2 separate regions of the Homo sapiens genome follow, and region 1 is linked to region 2. The links are contacts of gene promoters, found by promoter capture Hi-C in human tissues and cell types (Jung and others, 2019). All regions are on one chromosome and are shown on one strand. Each heading gives the region's core, a stretch centred on a gene start or on the middle of the fragment in contact. The rest is flanking DNA. Distances are from core to core; before and after follow the strand shown.

Region 1 (3,224 bases), core at 390-2,889, 150 kb before region 2:
GATGGAAAGATGGACAGCAGGCAGGCAAGCAGGCGAGCAGGCAAAGGAGAAAGGATTACAGGAAAGCAAAGAACAACTCAATATCCAAGAGTCTGTCTTTTTTTTTGTGAAGAGAAATTCAAAGTCATGGGCTGACAGTGAACAAGGAGAAGGATAAACAGAGGGCTTGAGGAGAGAAATAAAAGTCTCAAATACTCCCTTTGGGGAAGCAGAGCATGCTGGGAAGACTTACAAAAGTGTGGCCCAAGGGTACTGAGGACTGAGCTGAGTTGGAGACCATAAATGTGTATAACTGTAAAATGTCGGCATTGGATGGAGGCTTAGAGATCATCTAGTCTGGTGGTCTTGTGGTCTTTCTTTTTTCTCTACTTGCTGGGGGCTTTTGAAGAGATGATAAGAAAGTGCTTGTGCTGCTTCTGTCTACCCCCAATTCCATGAACACTCCCGAACTCGGTGGCTATAGATTGGCAGGCAAGTCGTGCCAGCGGGCGTGAGCAAGGCCTGCTCAGTCCAGAAAGAGAGCTGGTGCCAAATTTCCCCATGGAGAGACTCTGATACGCTGGAGAGTCTGGTCTACTGACCTCCCTGGAACCCTATGAGGAAGGGCACTGTTCGTCACTGTGAGGCTTCGTTGGGGTGTATCTCATGCTCTCTGTGGCCCCAAGAAGCCAGAGAAGGGAAGAAGCTTGACTCTTCCCTATCTCAGGCTAGAAAAATGCCACGCGTGGCAGCCACAAAGCTTGGCTGGGGTCTAATGACATCCCATGTGCACTGGCTCATACACTGATGAACCAGAGGCTGCTTTGCCACCTCCCTGCCTGAGATACTGGTAGTTGGATCAAGAAGTAGGAAAGAAAGAGAATTGCTTAATGGGATCCAGCAGTCATGGGTAGAAAAAGCATTTGAGCACTCCTTGAGGTGGTGAATCTTAGATTAACAGAACCAGAAAAAGAGGCAGATAAGAATTTTAATAATAATAATAATAAAAAGACCAAGTTCAATTATGACACCAAAGATGTCTCTTAGAATTAAAAGCATAATTTTCCACACACAAAAAAGCTCCACTGATGAAATTTTTAAAAAGACAGTTAATTGCCAAAACCCAATTAGTGGCCTAGTAGATCAAGTGGACCTGTCTTACCCAAAGCAGGGATGCAGAGACGCAAACTGTGAGACTTGGAGGACAGATCTGGAAGAACCAGCATGTAAGGGGGAATTTGAAAGGAGAAACATTTCCCTTAGCTGCAAAAAGATTTATCTGGAGACCGAAAAGCCTTGAAGGATACACACCTGACCACATTCTGGTAAAATTCCTTCACTCTAAATATGAAGAGAAAAATCACATATGCTTTGAGGAGGAAATGACAAATAACAAATAAAAGAAAAAGAAACTGGCTTTGAACTCCTCATTGGCAACAATGGATGCTAGAAGACAGTGGAATAGCACCTACTTACTGCAAATAAAGGATTGTGGCCCCCAAATGCCACTGAAGATGTTCTTCTGTCAAGATGGAAGAACAACATGCAAGAGAGGGTATTACCCACATATCCCACCAGAAGAAGACACTTACACTGCTGAGGAATTTTTTTTCTTTTAGTATGGAGAATTTTCTTCAAATACAATGTTTAAGTGGAAGCCTGGTATACAAAATGGACAAAATCAGAGGGTGTCTTGTAAAATCCAGGGTGAAGGCAATGGCCTAGGGCTCTCTCTCTTATTTCACTGTAGGAGTTTCAAGAAGATAACTTGGGGTCCGCCCCCTGACAGGGTGGTGGTTCCTAAACTACATTCTCAGATTATATAACAAAAACCGTAATAGAGCTAATGAAATGGGAATACACAGTATGTCTAACATTGACCTCATCGCTTTCTGCCATATTCCCTTGGTGATTTATAGTCAAGCTAGAAACCCTAGAATCTCTGTTTTCTTTCACCCTCTCTTAATCCCAACATTCCCTACATTTCATCAATTCCACCCCTTTGACACCTTTCAAATCTGCTGATGATGATAACCAATGTGTTTCATATTGGGTCAACTCTCACAGTTTCCTCTCTGGCCCTTTGGCTTGTTTCTTGCCCTCCTCGAATTCACATTTCACAATGACACTTAAGTAATCTTTCTAAAAGAAAAATCTGATCGCAATTCTCTAGGCTTAATTCTTAAACTGCTCTCCATCCTGCATGAAGGGCAGATACTTCTAGGTAGAAGCTATACCTAAGCATTACCATGGCATACGGGGCCTTTCACCATCAGGCTTCTGCCTGTCTTGCCAACCTCATTTTTCATTATTCTACCACTTTGATCTCTAACCTGCAATCATGTAAAATTTATAAAACTTGCAATTTTCTAAACAGGTGGTGCTAGTTCACATTTGTCTCCTTTTTCCTACCCCTGTACACACCTCTATGACAGTATTTGGCATGCTGTATTATTTGTGTATATGTCTGTTTTACCTAGTTTAGACTAGAGGCTCTGAGAGGGCAGGGCAATCCTATACCTAGAAGCTACAAGAGCATCTGGCACATGGCAAGCCCTCAAAAACATCTGTACAGATTCTGCTTCCAAGTAGGATATAGTATGGTTTGGCAGGCTAATACTCCTGCCAATGACTAGAAAAAGCCAAATAAATTACAAAAATCATTTCTTAAAGCATCCAATACTTGTGGAAGCAACAAGGACTAGATGGACTAACAGACTGAGAATGTTCAGAGGGAATCAACAATCAATAGCTTGTGTGTGTGTGTGTGTGTGTGTGTGTGTGTGCGCGCGCGCCTTTGGTGTGTGCGCACGAGCCTTTGGTGCATGTGTTGATCCTGGACGTGGGCTTGGGATTAGGGTGTGGTTATCATTGGGGAAAGAGAAACCACAATGCTTTCGATGGTCACCTGGGGCTGGACAGACAAAACTGCAATCTTGAGGGACCTCCAAATACCCAACTTCTGGAAGAAGGCTGCTGCTGAAGACAACCCAGTAGAGATTTTGGTATTCTTCAAAGCTGGGGTAACAAAGCTGGAGATTTGATGGACTCGAAATACTTACTTGGTTGGGGTCTTCCTCAAGACATTTAGTCAATTTTGAAATGATGTGAAGTAGTGGTAGGCTAAATAACTAAGCTGAAAACCTTAGGGGCAGAAGTGAACCTCCTAAAGGCTTTCATGTCTAAGGAGACAAATAGCCTATTAGGCTTTCAACTGAAAGCCCTGGAGGACCATACTCTAATAA
Region 2 (3,392 bases), core at 893-3,392:
GAGGACCAGGGCACGGTCAGGGTGACAGATGGGTGGGGGTCTTGGGGGAAAACAAATCTCATAAACCTTGGCAAGCTCAAGGTCAGGATGGGGAAGCCCTTAAGGTGGGAGGAGTGGGCAAGACAGACTCTGAGTGTGGAGCCACTGGACAGCATGTGGTCCAAGTGAGGCCCAGGGGCAGGAATTTGTTCAAAGTCACGCCGCAAGTTGGTCCTTGCAGTGGGAGAGCCCAGGTCTCCTGCTCACCATCGACTATTCCAAAAATGAGATGCAAAGTGCCTTGTATGTGAATTATCTCGACTTAAATCCCAAAACAACTCCGCTTACATAGATGCTATCATGATTCCCATTTTGTAGACAAAGACACCAGGTGGCTCCAGGTCCCAGAGCAAGTGGCTGCTTTGGGATTGGAATCCAGAGCTGTAGGATTCTGTAGGATTCTGCCCTGGGAACCACCTCACTACAGCTCAGTTTTTTCTCCAGCCCCTCTTATGACCACCCCTTCGCCACCATGTCCTGTGTTGTTCTCAAACCTGGGGGCAGATAGTTCTGCGCCACTGAAGTATCAGGGATGTCGGTCCCCGTGTAATCACAACAGAAGAGACCTCAGTGGCCAGAAGGAAAAACTTCCTGCTGGCCTATTGCGGCGAGGAAATGTTTTTGGAAACTTCAGACCCAGGGAGCTTGAGCAGGAAAGAGGCCATTGTTGTTCCCATGGAAGACCCTGGAGATACGGCCAGTCCCTGGGCTGTGGGAGCTGGGGCATTTTCTCCATCTGTTGTCCGAAGAAGGGTTTCCAGAAATCACGCCCAGCTCCAAAGATGCAGGTCTAGAATTGTAGGATTTATAGGATTTCTGCACTTAGAAAGGGCCTAGGCCTTCTAGGCCAGTGAGACCTCTGTCAGAAGTGGCCACTGTGACATGGGGCTGGAGGCTCATCATAACTGGCATCTCCAGGATCTCCCAGCCCCACTGAGCCCTGCTTTTGAGCATGGGGGTGAGAAGATGCATTGAGGACAAGCGGCCACCGAGGCGACACATCACAGTGTGTTGGGAGCTGGGCCCGAGGGAGGCAGGTGGCTGAGATCACACAGCAGGGTCAGGTGGGTCCACAGTTCCTGCCACCCATTCCTGCTCCACCTGCCCCATGTCCCTGTCCCACACCCCTTCCTGGGGGTTGCAATGGGTGCAGAAGCCATCCCCAGATGAACTTGACCCAAGAGCCAGCTGGGATTCTGGGTCCAGCAGTGACATCCTCCATTGTAGAAATCCCTCCAGCTGGGACCTACGAGAGTGCTGCTTGTGTGTGGGGAGGGAGTCAGGGGCACCAGTATGAAATTAGTTAAGCCTCTGTTCCACTCCTCTCGTTCCTCACAGATGCACCAAAGGCTGGAGCAGAGGACCAGGGCACGGTCAGGGTGACAGATGGGTGGGGGTCTTGGGGGAAAACAAATCTCATAAACCTTGTCCTATAAAATAAGGACACTGTTGTCCTTATTTTATAGGTGAGACTCAACAATTGGCCAAGGTCTAGGGTTGCAGAACGTGAGGGCGGGAAGAACAAGCCTGATTTCCGAAGGCTCCTGGATAGGATGCCGAAAGCTCCTCTCTGGCCGCTGGAGCCAAGGACTCAGCCAGGCTTGGCTTGCACACCACCGGCGTGGCATGCACACCACCTGGTCCTGGCTGGCAAGAACCACCCAAACCTAAGTGTTCTGAGGCCAGGCCAGCACCCCCTGCACAGCTCCAGGCACACATCAGAGAGCCAGCCCCCACTGACTGACTGAGGACACGTGCCAGTGGTCCGCCAGGACAGTACTTTACAGTTTACAACACCCCGTCGCGTTCCATTGCCTCACCTGATCCAGGGAGGCAAGGGTTAATGGTTATGCAGTGTGGATGGGGAAACTGAGGCTCCAAGCAGCATTGAGACGCCTCCTCACCCAGCCCGGTCTGCCTGTTGCTCTCCAAATCAGGACTTAGGGATTCAGCTCCCACCGGGTCCTGACCCCCAATGCCCCGGGGCCCCTGAGTGGCGGCTGCGGTGACTCTGATACTCACCCTCGGCCATGGTCGGGCGGGGGCGGTGGCTCCTTCCACTGGCGGCGAGACCCTCCAAGTGCGACCACTGGCGGCTGGCACTGCCGAGGCGGAGAGCGGCGCTAACTTATAGCCCGCTTTGGGGCGGGCCGGGGGCGGGGCCCCGCGGGAAGGCGGCGACCTGGGAGGCCACCCATTGCCCAGTCCCGGGCCCACGCCGCCAGCGCTGGGGCTCACCCAGGGGACCGGAGCCCGAGGGAGGGACGGCGGCCGGACGAGGGCGCCCCCTGGGGGAGCGGACAGGGACACACAACTAGCCCAGGATACAGACACACCTGGACCCACAGACTCAGACCTTGGAGAACAGACACCTGGACACACACACTCAGATACAGACACACGCAGCACCCTCATAGAAACACACAACGGAACCGGGGTGCACCTGGACACACAGATGTGGACTCTTAGGTCAGATCTGGGATCAAGAACACCTCCCCACCCCCAACACACACACACACACACACACACACACACGCACACACTCACACACATACTCAGATATACATACACAGAGAGCAGACGCAGACACACCAAGACAGGGCTGTGGAGATACACACACAAACACAGATACACTCCCACAGATACACCAAACACGGCTGGCCACGCAGACACAGTGACATGGATACAAATTCAGATTCGAATGGCAGACACACACCAGGACATAGATACAGCCTGACACAGCCAGGTAGCCTTGACCGCGAGCCACACACAGCTGTGGACACAGATGAGCAGGTGTCCAGAGGCACCTGGCACACACACAGACCTCCTAGACACCAATGCCACTGTCAGATGTGGACGCAAAATCAGAGAGGGCACCCACAGACACACAAAGATGTGGCTACTCAGAGGTAGACACACATGCAGGCATGGACTCAGGTACAGACATGCAGACACACCTGCAAAAACAGACACACCCATGTCCCTTCCTGTAGCAAAACCCAGATAATCCTCCGATCTCACCCATCCTTGTATCTGTCTAATCAGCCATCCATCTAATCAGCCATCCATCTACCCATCCATCCACTCACCCATGCATCACCTACCCCCCCACCTATCCATCCACTCATCCCTTCATCCATCCCTCCCTCGGCCTTCTCTTCCCTCCCTCCCTCAATCCATCCATCCACTGAGCTTTCTTGAGGCCCCACTGTGTGCCAGAAAGGAGCAAGACTAACTTTCCAGGGACTCAGCCTAGGACTTCTCGAACCTGGCAACCAGGGGTCCTATCTCTCATCCTGGTATCTCTGGTCTCTTGGTCTCCTGTGCTTCCGGATCCACTGTGAGCCCTGAGC

What was found. The method cuts DNA at HindIII sites, captures the fragments that hold promoters and counts their contacts. A contact is called where the count stands out against the background at its distance.
Region 1: a fragment that was not itself captured here is called in contact with the fragment with the promoter of TGM2 in region 2 in 1 of the 25 tissues and cell types used here (IMR-90 fibroblasts).

What each region holds. Positions count from the first base shown.
Region 1 is chr20:38,014,672-38,017,895 of GRCh38, forward strand. All of the region lies in intron 1 of TTI1 (TELO2 interacting protein 1), which reads right to left. Among named protein-coding and RNA genes, the nearest start is that of TTI1, 17 kb to the right of the region's middle. The HindIII fragment of the contact is 3,197 bases long and covers 42-3,224 here.
Region 2 is chr20:38,163,128-38,166,519 of GRCh38, forward strand. It overlaps TGM2 (transglutaminase 2), which reads right to left and starts at 2,143. Exons shown (of 13, transcript NM_004613.4): 1 at 2,062-2,143. The coding sequence starts at 2,071. RefSeq lists a silencer at 1,996-2,435. The HindIII fragment of the contact is 7,409 bases long and covers 1-3,392 here.